Linked DNA regions of Homo sapiens: all the other regions are linked to region 3. Evidence: promoter capture Hi-C in 16 types of primary human blood cells and fetal thymus (Javierre and others, 2016). All regions are on one chromosome and are shown on one strand. Each heading gives the region's core, a stretch centred on a gene start or on the middle of the fragment in contact. The rest is flanking DNA. Distances are from core to core; before and after follow the strand shown. Region 1 overlaps HOMER1 (homer scaffold protein 1). Region 2 has its middle 7.5 kb from the start of SERINC5. Region 3 holds the start of MTX3 (metaxin 3). Region 4 has its middle 15 kb from the start of SPZ1. Region 5 has its middle 4.2 kb from the start of ZFYVE16.

The links. Contacts are between HindIII fragments. The CHiCAGO score rates a contact against its expected background, and 5 or more counts as called.
Region 1: a contact is called between a fragment that was not itself captured here and the fragment with the promoter of MTX3 in region 3, in 1 of 17 cell types (activated CD4 T cells). The highest score is 5.0, in activated CD4 T cells.
Region 2: a contact is called between a fragment that was not itself captured here and the fragment with the promoter of MTX3 in region 3, in 1 of 17 cell types (activated CD4 T cells). The highest score is 7.2, in activated CD4 T cells.
Region 4: a contact is called between a fragment that was not itself captured here and the fragment with the promoter of MTX3 in region 3, in 1 of 17 cell types (activated CD4 T cells). The highest score is 6.1, in activated CD4 T cells.
Region 5: a contact is called between a fragment that was not itself captured here and the fragment with the promoter of MTX3 in region 3, in 7 of 17 cell types (activated CD4 T cells, total CD8 T cells, non-activated CD4 T cells and 4 more). The highest score is 9.2, in activated CD4 T cells.

The regions. Positions count from the first base shown.
Region 1 is chr5:79,507,995-79,510,694 of GRCh38, forward strand. The region is part of intron 1 of HOMER1 (homer scaffold protein 1); the gene reads right to left. It also overlaps the pseudogene RPL29P15. Among named protein-coding and RNA genes, the nearest start is that of HOMER1, 4.8 kb to the right of the region's middle. The HindIII fragment of the contact is 1,413 bases long and covers 567-1,979 here.
Region 2 is chr5:80,262,151-80,264,898 of GRCh38, forward strand. No RefSeq gene overlaps it. Among named protein-coding and RNA genes, the nearest start is that of SERINC5, 7.5 kb to the left of the region's middle. The HindIII fragment of the contact is 6,133 bases long and covers 1-2,748 here.
Region 3 is chr5:79,989,981-79,992,680 of GRCh38, forward strand. MTX3 (metaxin 3) reads right to left here and starts at 1,282. Exons shown (of 9, transcript NM_001363818.2): 1 at 1,178-1,282; 2 at 614-683; 3 at 180-256. The coding sequence starts at 1,258. It also overlaps a transcript of THBS4 not described here. RefSeq lists an enhancer at 780-949. The HindIII fragment of the contact is 4,262 bases long and covers 367-2,700 here.
Region 4 is chr5:80,303,422-80,306,131 of GRCh38, forward strand. No RefSeq gene overlaps it. Among named protein-coding and RNA genes, the nearest start is that of SPZ1, 15 kb to the right of the region's middle. The HindIII fragment of the contact is 2,646 bases long and covers 6-2,651 here.
Region 5 is chr5:80,402,498-80,405,197 of GRCh38, forward strand. No RefSeq gene overlaps it. Among named protein-coding and RNA genes, the nearest start is that of ZFYVE16, 4.2 kb to the right of the region's middle. The HindIII fragment of the contact is 2,574 bases long and covers 127-2,700 here.

The DNA of each region.
Region 1 (2,700 bases), core at 23-2,522, 480 kb before region 3:
CTCCCCACTTCGGAACCTTCCAGGGCCTGCCCAACTGTCCACTTCCTCTACCCAGCCAGAGTTCATTGTTCTGGCTTGGTGTTTCCACAGGATACAAGACACAAAACCAAATTGTAAATGATTTTTAAAATTGCTTTCTTATTCTACTTCCCTGATCATGTTCTTACTCTGCTTAAAACCCTTTAGTAATCTTCACACAGAAGAGAAGTGCTTTTCAAATTACCAGTTGCTAACACAGCGTCATTAAATAAATTGAGTGGGTCACCATCATCAGTCTATCTTAAAAATAAAATAGAACGGAACAGAATAGAAACTACCAGAGTGTACCATACAAAGCAAGGGTATTATGTAGTGACATTTTATCATTTATATACAAGCATATTGGGTTGCAATGTAAAGATGCTTATCTTTCCAACGGGTCATAGCCAAAAAAACCTCTAAACACACTAAACTACAGGATAATCCAATCTTTCATTTGATCTACATGGTTCTCCAACCCAGTCCCTGCATAATAAGGCTCTAGACCTATCTCTTGCTACACCAAAGGGAGCTAGCTCAAGCAAACAAGCTTGTCATGCCAAACTCCTTTGCAGTTCCTCGTTTTAGTGGTGTCAATCACTGTTCTCTCTGCCTTGAATGCCCTCTTATTTGTCTAAGAGGCTCACTTGTACTCATCTTTCAGTATTTAACAACTATCACCTCCTCTACAAAGCCTTTTTATCCTTCCCTCAGCAGCTAATGCCCCCCCAACACACACTTTGTGTCTCCATAATGCCCTACATTATAGCTCCTACAAAATTTCATTGCACATTTTAATTTTAGGCTTGACTGTCTGCCCAACTTCCAAAGTATAAACTCACTAAGGGAAGGAGCACATTGTATTGGCCTTCCTATCAGCAGCACTGAGGTAAGTACACGCACTATAACAAAGGTTCAAAGTTGGTAAAATGAACAAATGACGAATTAAGGACTTGCATCTAAGTTGTCTATTGTCAGATATGATAGGGTGGTTATCTTTGCAATAAAACCCATTTATAGTGCTGGATCAAGATTTTCACATTTTTGCTACAACCCCTAGAGAGCAGAACCCTGCAGTTTGAGGCAGAAGGAGGTGTCAGCTTCCCATCTTTCAGCAAAGAGACTCAGTTTGGGCTGCAATGTAGCAGCACTCATTTCCATGCTTCTGGAAGTTATTTGGGGAAAGAGGGGAAGGAAGGACTCCAGAAGTTCCCATAGGCAGGTGAGATAAATCAGAAACAGCATTAACAGATTCCATTAGCAGGGAGAGCCCCATTTTATGTATAAGTAGCTCTTAATAAGGGAAGGGAGGGAAAGAATTCTTTACCATTGCTGATGGCACTAGGTTGCCAAAATGAGCTAAGTAAAAACAAAGGGTTTCATGAAATAAGTGGTTGAAGTTACTTGATTTCTGTTGCCTACTGTGATAGTTCTGAAATAGCTACTGACTCACTGCTGTCATTATGAGATACTATTTGGAGGTGGGGGTGGGGGTCATACCTAACAGGGGCTCCTCACTGAGGCTTCAAAACTTTTCAGAGACTTCATTTTACATACATGAATGCCTTAATTTTTAGGGGATCTGATACACCTATTTTACAAACCCATACTTTAGTTGCCTTCACTGCAATTAACAGTTCATGCAACATCCAAGATACTTTGACAGACTTTGCCAACTGTCAAGTTTCAGCTGTTCTTCTCCATTTCCAAAAAGTTCATAAACTACTATTAGGGGAGCCATAATTTTTTTCTGCCCAATCACTGATTTTATTAAAAATAATTCCTTTGCTTAGACTGCCCCTAGACTTGCAATAATTATCTACAATTAAGACGAAGATAAATCCTTATTATAACCTAACATTAGTTTAAAAAAAGAAGGTTGTAATATGTGAAACACTTTACCCACAGTATTAAATTTTAGATATCTATTACAGTAAGGTAATTATGGATTGCCAAGGTAAAGCTTTAAAAGCCATTTAAAGCCCTGTTTCCTTTTGCTTGAAATAGGTCCAGGCAGCTATGCTAATTCCACAAACATTTATTAGGCATAAATACGCATAAAGTGTGGAAACGTCAGCAAATGCCTTTGCTGTATGCTCTTCTACTTCCATCTACCCTTCCTCTCTCTACTCAAGTCACTATCAATGAGAAAGGGTCATAGCCCCAAATACAGGCTTTCCAAAAAAAAAAAAATAGCACCACAAAATGCTCGCTCCTTTTTCTCCTCAGTCCATATATAGAACTTTATTAACTAAAGGGCAGATACATTCATTTATAAACAAATTAATTATGCTAAGTGTCTAAATGCATGTTATGTGTGGTGCTAACTTTCCCACTTTAAACAACAGCCCCCTTAGTATTAAATTCATCCTGTCTCTTCAGATTCTAGGCGCTTCAGGAGCCGCGCCTTAAGGTGCAGACATGGCCAAGTCCAAGAACCACACCACACACAACCAGTCCCAAAAATGGCACAGAAATGGTATCAAGAAACCCGAAGCACAAAGATACGAATCTCTTAAGGGGGTGGACCCCAAGTTCCTGAGGAACATGCAGTTTGCCAAGAAACACAACAAGAAGGGCCTAAAGAAGATGCAGGCTAACAGTGCCAAGGCCATGAGTGCACATGCCAAGGCTATCAAGGCCCTCCTAAAGCCCAAGGAGGTTAAGCCCAAGATCCCAAAG
Region 2 (2,748 bases), core at 240-2,739, 270 kb after region 3:
TGGAGACCAGCCTGGCCAACATGGTGAAACCCCATCTCTACTAAAAATACAAAAATTAGCCGGATGTGGTGGCAGGCACCTATAATCCCAGCTACTCAGGAGGTTGAGGCAGGAGAATCGCTTGAACCTGGGAGGCGGAGGTTGTAGTGAGCCAAGATCGCAACTTTATTACAAATTTAATTTCCAATTATTCTAATTATTTAAAACATGAACAACTTTGAAAAAAAACCTAGTGAAGCATTCTGTTGGTTTTTAACTATAAAAGGAGAAATTTCTTTAATTTTCACTTATGAGGTCTCTAGGAACCTCAATCCAGTGGACGAAGTTTAATTAATTTCAATTAAAAGTAAACAACAAAGTATTCATTTAGAAACAAATAGCTATAAATTTGCAAGCCCCAGGCAAAAAGTAATCAGAGCCCTATAGTGCCTTCACCCCATTTCTCTGATAGCTATATTGTCATTTATTTCTATTAAATTAATATATGCACAGGTTTTTGTTTGTTTTGTTTTGTTTTGTTTTGTTTTTTGGCGACAGGGTCTCTCTCTCTGTTGCCCAGGCTGGAAGGCTGGAGTGCAATGATGCCATTACGGCTCACTATAACCTTCACCTCCCAGGCTCAAGTGATCCTCCCACCTCAGCCTCCTGAGTAGCTGGGACTACAGGTATGCACCATCACAGCCTGGCTAATTTTTGTATTTTTTGTAAAGACTGGGTTTCACCATGTTGCCCATGCTGGTCTTGAACTCCTGAGGCCAAGCAATCCACCTGCCTTGGCCTCCCAAAATGCGGAGATTACAGGCGTGAGCCACTGCACCCAGCATATGCAAAATGTTTTTTAATTTTTTTTTTTTTTAAGTAGAGATGGGGTTTCACCATGTTGGTCAGGCTGGTCTCGAACTCCTGACCTCGTGATCCACCTGCCTCGGCCTCCCAAACTACTAGAATTACAGGTGTGGATCACCATCACCGTGCCTGGCCCTTTTTTTGTGTGTGTGACGGAGTCTCACTCTGTTGCCCAGGCTGGAATACAATGGCGCAATCTCGGCTCACTGCAACCTCCAACTCCTGGGTTCAAGCTATTCTCATGTCTTAGCCTCCCGAGTAGCTGGAATTACAGGCGCCCACCACCACACCTGGCTAATTTTTGTATTTTTGGTAGAGACGCGGTTTCACCATGTTGGTCAGGTTGGTCTCGAACTCCTGACCTCAGATGATCCACCCACCTCAGCCTCCCAAAGTGCTGGGATTACAGGTGTCAGCCACCACGCCTGGCAATTTTTTTAATTTTTAGAGTAAAAATTTTTAGTGTCAAAAGTTTACAAATTGACAATGACATAAAATGGGTCCAAATATTACAAAAAATAAAATGAAAAATATCCTCTCCAGTCTCCATTCCTTACCTTCTAGTTCCTACCCCAGAGGCAACCACTTTCAGTCATTTATACAGTTTTCCCCTATTCACCTCCATATATATATATGTGTGTATATATATATATATAAATATATACATATATATAAATATATACATATATATATTTTTTGAGATTGAGTCTCACTCTGTCACTCAGGCTGGAGTACAATGGCACAATCTCGGCTTACTGCAACCTCCGCCTCCCAGGTTCAGGTGATTCTCCTGCCTCAGACTCCTGAGTAGCTGGGATTACAGGCATGTGCCACCATGCCCAGCTAATTTTTTTTTTTTTTTTTAGACGGAGTCTTGCTCACTTTCCAGGCTGGAGTGCAGTGGCACTGTCTTGGCTCACTGCAACCTCTGACTCCCTGGTTCAAGTGATTCTCCCATCTCAGCCTCCCGAATCGCTGGGATTACAGGTACACGCCACCACGCTCAGCTAATTTTTTGTATTTTTAGTAGAGATGGGGTTTCACCATGTTGGCCAGGATGGTCTCGATCTTCTGACCTCGTGATCTGCCCACCTTGGCCTCCCAAAGTGCTGGGATTACAGGTGTGAGCCACTGCGCCTGGCCTTTTAGTTTTTTGTTTTTTGTTTTTGAGATGTAGTCTTGCTCTGTCGCCCAGGCTAGAGTGCAGTGGTGCGATCTCAGCTCACCGCAACCTCCACCTCCCGAGTTCAAGCAATTCTCTGCCTCAGCCTCCTGAGTAGCTGGGATTACAGGCACCCGCCACCATGCCTGGCTAATTTTTTTGTATTTTTAGTAGAGACAGGGTTTCATCATCTTGGCCAGGCTGGTCTTGAACTCCTGACCTCATGATCCATTCACCTCAGCCTCCCAAAGTGCTGGGGTTATAGGCGTGAGCCACTGCACCCAGGCCCATCTAATATTTTTGTAGTTTTAGTAGAGACAGGATTTCATCATGTTGGCCAGGCTGGTCTCAAAACTCCTGACCTCAAGTGATTCACCCGCCTCAGGGTTTCAAACTGCTGGGATTACAGGCATGAGCCACAGTGCCTAGCCAATATCCCCTTCCCCTTCCCCTTCCCCTTCCCCTTCCCTTTTTTCTTTTTTTCAGTAGAGATGGGGTTTCACCATGTTGGCCAGGCTGGTCTCGAACTCCAGACCTCAGGTGATCTGCCCGCCTCAGCCTTCCAAAGTGCTGGGATTACAGGCATGAGCCACTGTGCCCAGCCTCATATTTTCAAATAATGTTCTTCTGCTGTTATTTCCTGATGTGTGGGCAGCATTTATTTTGCAGTTTCTTTTATGTTCCATTTAGGCTGAATTCTCAACCCACTTTCACCTGCCCCCTTGCCAATCTAATTACAT
Region 3 (2,700 bases), core at 32-2,531:
ACTTTCAAATCACAGAACTCATGCTTTAGAGCAGTGATTCTCAAATCTATTTTTACATCTTGTCCCAGGTATCTCCAATTGTCTAATGAGTTGGCAAAAAAAAATAAATAAATAAAATAAAGCCCAACATGCAGGGATCAACAATCTACCAATCTACTTCTTCAAAGTGAACCACCCACCTGTTTTCTTAAAAAGTTTAGTATTTTTGCTGGCTGAGAAACCATGTCGTCTTCAGTTGTCAAAATTGGTACATCGCCTATAATCAAAAAACAGTTTACATACAAGGACACAGTGTGATTTCCTCTGAGAGATTCCAATATCCTAAAAACTATAGCAGTTGCACATTTAGAGGGGAAAAAATGAGTAAGCTTGTCTTGGTTTTTTTGCTGTTTCACAAAGAGCGGTTCTAAAGAACATTTTCGTTTCTCATAATTTCCAGTGATTTCGCTTGCACTTTGAGGTATTACTCAGAATGATCAAACCATAAACAACACAGAGCCAAGGTCACGGTAAGAAACTAAATCCTCAATATTATAGCTATATACCTCACAGCTTTAAATGGAAGAAGAAAAAAAAGAGTGCAGAAAGGGGAGTGTAAAGGTTTACACTATACCTCTTGAACCTCTCCAGGTGTTATCTATCACATTGACTTTCAAGGGTGCACCAGAAAATTTGGCATAAGCCTGAAACAGAGTTTGCAATCAAACATTTTAGACCAAGTGCGTAATGCAAAGCTGCAGAGCAGCTTTACTTCACAGCCCCATCCCCCAAAGGCAGAAGGCGACTGATACTGAGGCCGCATCCCTCCCCGTGATCTCAAGTAGGGACGCGGGCGCCAGCCACCCGGCTTTCGAGGACTTTGCTCCCCAAAAGGTCCTGGGGATGCAGAGTAGGGAGGGCGCGCCCCTTGCTTCGGGGTTTCACTCCACCGCCCAGACAGCTTTGTGAGGCGGACAAAACTCGGAGCCAAGCGGAGAAGCCTTGATGTCGCCGCCGGCCTTCGGCGGGGGTATCGGCCAGGTTGGGACTCGTCGGTGGGAGGGAGCCCAGGGCAATGCAGCGTGCAGCGGCTCGGCCCTCCTGGACCCCGCAGCGCAGCGGGAAACTGGGGCAAGTCAGCCTGGCGCCTCCAGCCCCGCCCCTTCCTCCTGCGCCCTGGCCCGCGAGGCGGCCTCACCATCACCACCAGGGACTCGCTGTGAACCGATGGGAGTCCCCAGCCGCCTCCCCAGCAACTGAGTTCCAAGGGGGCCGCCATCTTGCGCGGGCCGACCTTTACTATCCCGGAAGTACTTTTCCTCCTAATTTCCGGCACGTGAAACGCGGGGGCGTGGCTAAGGGAGGGAAGGGTAATTTGGGGGCTCTTGAGAGATGAGAGAAACAACGACTGGAGGGATTAAGAAGAACTCTTAGGAGCAGCTTGGCCTAAAGGGTAAGAGTTGTGTGCCTTAAGTCAGACCCACCAGTAATTCTTCAAATATTAATATTTATTAGATCCCTAGAGTGTTCCAAACCCTTTGAACATTAAATCTGTGTGATGCCTAAATTAACCTGTTTGTAAAACAGGGATGACCCAGTATTTACAAGATTGTGGTATTTACAATGTCGGAGAGAAAGAACTTGGCACACAGGAGGCACTCAGTAATTGTTCAACCCCTTCTCCCATGTATGTGGCCTCTGCCTGCCTTTCCAGCCTCAACCTGTTCTCACCCTCATGTTCACTGGCACAACCCTGCTTAAAAGTTACAGTATTTCTGAACGTCAGGTAAATTGTGCCCACCTTCAGTGCTGGTCCTTCAATCTGGAATATCTTTCTTCCCTATGCAGCTGCTCCCTCAAAAATGAGCTTAACTCACCTTCCCTGTGATGTTTTTACAAAGTTAGGAGCTCTGGGTTCTTGTAGCCCCTTGTGCATATTTGAATTGTAGCTTCTCTCCCTAGCTACAGACCTTTTGCCTTTCACAGAAGAGGGCTAGCTTCATAGGTTTGGGACCTGTGCAGCCACACAAGGCTCTGTGCTTAAAAAGGCTCCTCATTTGGCTGATGCTCTTCCGTCACTGTCTTGAAATTCTTAAGTTTTGAACAAGGGGCTCTGCATTTTTATTTTGGACTGGGCCCCTCAAATCATGTAGCTCGTCATGTCTGTGGGCCTAATGAGCACAGACTAAATGTTTCTTGACGTTAAACCTGACAGTTTCTCAGAAAAACTATTAAAGAGGAAATTTTGGTCTTGGAAATGCTATGATCCAAACATATGACTGGGTCTCAGAGTTAGAACTTGGGTGCTGGGTCTTTTTTCTAGAAGGCACAGTAGTCTTTCTGGGACACCCTCGCAGTCATGCCTCTGAGTTCTTTCCTCTATTCCACTGAGATGGTCGGATCTTCTTAACTAAAACTCAAAAGAAACCTCTGCAACTTTTCGTAAAATTACTATTCAACAAATATTTGCTAGGCACTCCCTTACTGTTTACATAATCATTCAAATTACAGTGCCAGCCTGCTAAAGTCTTTTTTACATGTTTCAAAACCAAGAGTTCTAAGAAATGAAAAAGAGATATGTCAGAAATGAGAATTCATTAATAATAACTGTATAATTGGAAAATGCATAACATATGTACCATTAAAACTGTCGAAACATTTATTGAGCAGCTCCTATGTCTTAGACATCATAAGGTTCTGGAACAATACAGAAATATATAA
Region 4 (2,710 bases), core at 79-2,578, 310 kb after region 3:
TTAGAAGCTTATTTTGCCAAGGCTAGGGATTGTGACTGGTGACACAGCCTCAGGAGGTCCTGGGAACATGTGCCCAAGGTGGTTGGGTTACAGCTTGACTCTATACCTTTTAGGGGGACAGAAGTTATAGGCACACATCAATCAATGTAAGGTGTACATTGGTTCAGTCTGGAAAAGTGGGACACACCTGTAATTCCAGCTACTCGGGAGGCTGAGGCAGGAGAATCGCTTGAACCCGGGAGGTAGAGGTTGCAGTGACCTGAGATCACACTATTGCACTCCAGTCGACAGAGCAAGACTCCGTCTCAAAAAAAAAAAAAAAGAAAAAGAAAAAGAAAATTGGGACAACTTGAAGTGAGGACGGGGACGGTTCCTGGTCATAGGTGGATTCAAAGATTTTATGGTTGGCAGTTGGTTGAAAAAAATTATGTTATTATCTAAAGACCTGGAATCAACAGAAAGGAACTCTGGATTAAGATAAGCGGTTGGCCAAGTGCGGTGGCTCATGCCTGTAATCCCAGCACTTTGGGAGGCCGAGGTAGGTGGATCACCCGAGGCCCAGGAAATCGAGGCTGCAGTGAGCTGAGATTGCACCACTGCCCTCCAACCTGGGTGATAGAGTGAGACCCTGTCTCAAAAAAAAGGTGCTAGACTCTTAGTTAATCTCTCCTGAGTCAGGAAAAGTTCTGGAAAGGGAAGGAGGTTCTCTACAGAATGTAGATTTCCCCCATAAGAGTCGTTTTGCAGGGCCATTTAAAAAATACATCAAGGAAGCCGGGCACGGTGGCTCACACCTGTAATCCCAGCACTTTGGGAGGCCGAGGCGTGTGGATCACGAGGTCAGGAGATTGAGACCATCCTGGCCAACATGGTGAAACCCAGTCTTTAATAAAAATACAAAAATTAGCTAGGCGTGGTGGTGCGTGCCTGTAATCCCAGCTACTCGGGAGGCTGAGGCAGGAGAATCACCTGAACCAGGGAGTCAGAGGTTGCAGTGAGCCGAGATCATGCCACCGCATGCCAGCCTGGTGACAGAGACTCCATCTCAAAAACAAAAACAAAAAAAACCCAAAAAATATATATTTCAGGGTAAAATACTTCACTTTCAGGGCCTGCTATCTGGCATGTGATGTTATACTAGAGTCAGGTTGGAATTTGGTGTATTATTGCTACGAAGAGTCAGCTTTGTTAGCTGACAGTTTAAAAGCTCTGTTTTAATGTTAATGCTGGTCAGCTGTGCCTAAATTCCAAGGAGAGAGGGTATAACGAGGCAATCACTTCAACAAATCCCTTCTTCCCATCACGGCCTGAAATAGTTTTTCAGGCCTCCTTTGGAATGCCCTTGGCTGATGGGGGTCCATTCACTTGGTTCAGAGTCTGAGAATGTTATTTTTGGTGTAGGATCATATATACCAAAATCTACTGCAGAAGATTTTATAGGCAGATTTTATACGTAATTTGCAATTTTTTCTTCCAGTCTGTGGCTTGTCATTTTGTTCACAATGTCTTTCACAAGTGAAAGTTTTTAATTTCTAGAACGTCCAATTTATTAAATCTTTCTTTCATAGATTATGCTTTTGGTATTGTATCTAAAAAGTCATTGCCAAATCAGGAGTCACAAAGACTTTCTCCTGTGTTTTCTTCTAGCCGTTTACAGCTTTGTATTTCATATTTAATTTTTTTTTTTTTTTTTTGAGACAGGGTCTCTCTCTGTCACCCAGGTTGGAGTGCAGTGGCACGATCTCTGCTCATTGCAACCTCCGCCCCCCTGGGCTCAAGCGATCTTCCCACCATAGCCTCCCAAGTAGCTGGGAGTTGCCATGTTGCCCAGGCTGGTCTCGAACTCCTGAGCTCAGGCAACCCGCCCACCTCAGGCTCCTGAAGTGTTGAAATTACAGGCGTGAGCCACCGTGCCCGGCCTGTATTTCATATTTAAATCTATGATTCATTTAAAGTTAATTTTCGTCTAAGGTGTGAGATATGTGTCAAAGTTTATTGTTTTTGCATATAGATGTCCAATTTGTTCATCACCATTTGCTGAAAAAGACTATTTCTTCATTGAATTGCCTTTCTATCTTTGATAAAAATCAGTTGACTATATTAGTGTGGTTCTATTTCTGAGCTCTCTCTTTTGTTTCACTGGTTTATGTGTCTGTCCTTTCTTTTTTTTTTTTTTGAGACGGAGTTTCCGCTCTTGTTGCCCAGGGTGGAGTGCAATGGAACGACCTTGGCTCTCTGCAACCTCTGCCTCCCAGGTTCAAGCAATTCTCCTGCCTCAGCCTCCCAAGTAGCTGGGATCAAATGCATATGCCGCTACAGCTGGCTGATTTTGTATTTTTAGTAGAGATGGGGTTTCACCATGTTGGCCAGGCTGGTCTCAAACTCCTGACCTCAGGTGATCCACCCTCCTTGGGCTCCCAAAGTGCTGGGATTACAGGCGTGAGCCATTGTGCCTGACTTTATGTGTCTATCCTTTCACACTGCCTTGATCACTGTCAGTGAATATGAGCCTTCCTACTTCATTCTCCTTTTCCAAGATTGCTTTGGTTATTCTAGATCCCTTGAATTTCCATATGAATTTTAGGATCAGCTTGTCGATTTCTTCCCCCCACAGTCCCCAACTGGCTTGCTTTTCATTGTCTTAACCTTCAAGCTTTTACTTAAGTGTAATCAACCAGGTGAGGGTGGTAGGAGGTATTTCTCAACACTT
Region 5 (2,700 bases), core at 164-2,663, 410 kb after region 3:
ATAATCAATGTATTATAAAATAACAATTGGTTTTAAAAAATAATTTAAGGTTCATGCCATACTGACCATTTCTTTTTGCTTATTGAATATATGTGTAGAGAGGGGTTGGACCAGGTTAATTGAATAAGCTTTCATTTATTATAATGGTTAAGGAAATCACCTTAATATAATAAAACACAATTTAATTCTAAAAATTCATGTAACTTTATCTCTATTTTCTTTGTCAATTCAAAAGCACTGCAAGATCTTGCAATGACTGCAAGATCAATAGGAAAAACAATGCAATTATGTTTAATAAACTGTCTGGGCTTGGTGGCTCACTCTTCTAATCCCAGCACTTCAGGAGGCCAAGGTCGGTGGATGGCTTGAGCCCAGGAGTTCCAGACCAGCCATGGGCAACATGGCGAAATCCTGCCTCTACAAAAAATACAAAAGTTAGCCAGGTGCAGTAGCATGCGCCTATAGTCCCAGGTATTTGGGAGACTAAGGCAGGAGAAACACTTGAGCCACAGAGGTTGAGGCGGCAGTGAGCCGAGATCGAGCCATTACACTCCAGTCTAGGCAATGGGAGTGAAACCCTGTACCAAACAAAACAAAACAACAAAAAAAAAATGAATAAGTGTTTGTTGAATTAAACACCAGTTATTCCTCTTTTTTACTGTTGATATAGAAAGCTCATAAGATTTATTATGTTTATCAACAAATCATTGCTATGTCATTAATTTATTGTTTGTCATATATTTCTAAAGAACTCAGAAAAAATATTGGTTATTTGAGCTTTTTGACTTTATAACTTTAAGTAAATACAGTTGCTGTATTAAATACAAGGATCTACAGCGATTATCTGAGCACCACAACTAAAACTTTCCTTAGAGAATTGAAAAGCCTCTCTCACAAGAACCAATACTAAATTATAGCACTTTGTACAAAAGGAGAATGGGCTGTTGAGAGTGTGTTCTTCAGTTTGCTGTTTTGATAAAGGCCTTGACCAGTAAGTGTTGCTGTACTTAACAAAGTAGTTATAACAGCCTGTACTTAACAAAGTAGTTATAACAGCAGGGAGAAATCCTGAACTTCAGGTTTTGTTTATGGATGAGCAACAATGTTCATACTGCGAGAACACCTGGTTTACTTATAAGATAAAGGCTGAAAACAGTAGGTGATCAATAAATGACAGCTATTTATAAAGTGGTTCTTAGTAATAAGTGATGATACGTGTGTCTGGTGCAACTGAACAATAGGAATGGAGCATTTTTCTGTGCCAGAGTACAACTGACCAGCTGTCTGCTCCATAAAACTGGTCATTGTAGATTTTTTATCTCTAATCTAGTTAACTTTGGGTACTACTTGGTACAAAGTTTAATTTTCATTGGTATAGGGCCTTATGTAGAAGTTCAAAACCCAGTTCTGAATTTCTGAACTCACATTTGTGCCGCTGTGGTCATCAGAAAAAAAAAAAAAAAAGGAACTGTTTACTAGGAATTGGAAGAAATATACTAGCTTTAAACCACTCACTGGCTAAATCAGGGTTTCTCAACCTTGGCACTGTTGATATTTTAGGCTGAAAACTTCTTTGTTGTTGGGGGTTCTCCTGTGAATTGCAAGACAGTTAGCGGCATCCCTGGCCTGTATCTATTAGATATCAGTAGCATTCTTTCAGTGGTGACAACCAAAAATGCCTCCAGAGATTGTCAAACGTCCTCTGGGAGGCAAAATCACCCCTCACCTCCACAGAGAACTATTGGGCTAAAGTAGTAGTCATTGATTTGAACTTTGGTTTGTTGGTTGATTTCATCTATTTTTACTACTTTATAGATCAGAAGTTTTGTGGAACCCAAATTAAATACTCTTTCAAAGCATAATTAGGAAAGGTTATTATAATTCTAAACATCTACTAAAAGTATTGCAATTGCTTTGTTAGCAGATTAAATTTTTAGTAGACATTTGGCATTAAAAGGTAATCAAAGGCTACAAATTTTATATGAACAAACTTATTAATTCTCCTTAAAAAACAAAAACAGAAACAAAAACAGAGCAAACGAGTCTTCATATAGTGACAAACATGTGGAGTGGTCATCAAGTCCCTGTATCTTATTCTCAGTTTAGTAGACTAAGAAATTCAGTTTTAAAATGTATTTGCAAGTAATTGTGCTCCAGGGAACTTATACTTGCATTAGCCAAATTCATAGGCTACTGATATAACAACATGGATGTAACTGATCAATTTATAAAAAGAAATATAACCATCAAGAATAGCAATTGTTAGGCTGGCACAGTGGCTAATGTCTGTAATCCCAGCACTTTGGGAGGTTGACTACCTGATTACCTGAATTTGAATTCTAATTGGGAGGATTGCTTGGGCCCAGAAGTTTGAGACCAGTATAGGCAACATAGTGAAACCTTGTCTTTAAAAAAATAAAAATAAAAATTATCTGGGCATGGTGATGCACGCCTGTGGTCCCAGCTACTCTGGAGGCTGAGGTAGGAGGATCACTTGGGCCCCAGGAGTTGGGGCTGCAGTGAGCCATGATCCAACCACTGCATTTCAGCCTGAGTGATATAGTAAGATCCTGTCAAAAAAAGAAAAAAAAAAGAATAACAGTTATTCATCATTTACAGTCAGTGCTTCAGTTAAGTACTTTATGTGGATTATCTCAATCAATGTATTAGTTCTATTAGCATTTGACTACAGGAGCATCA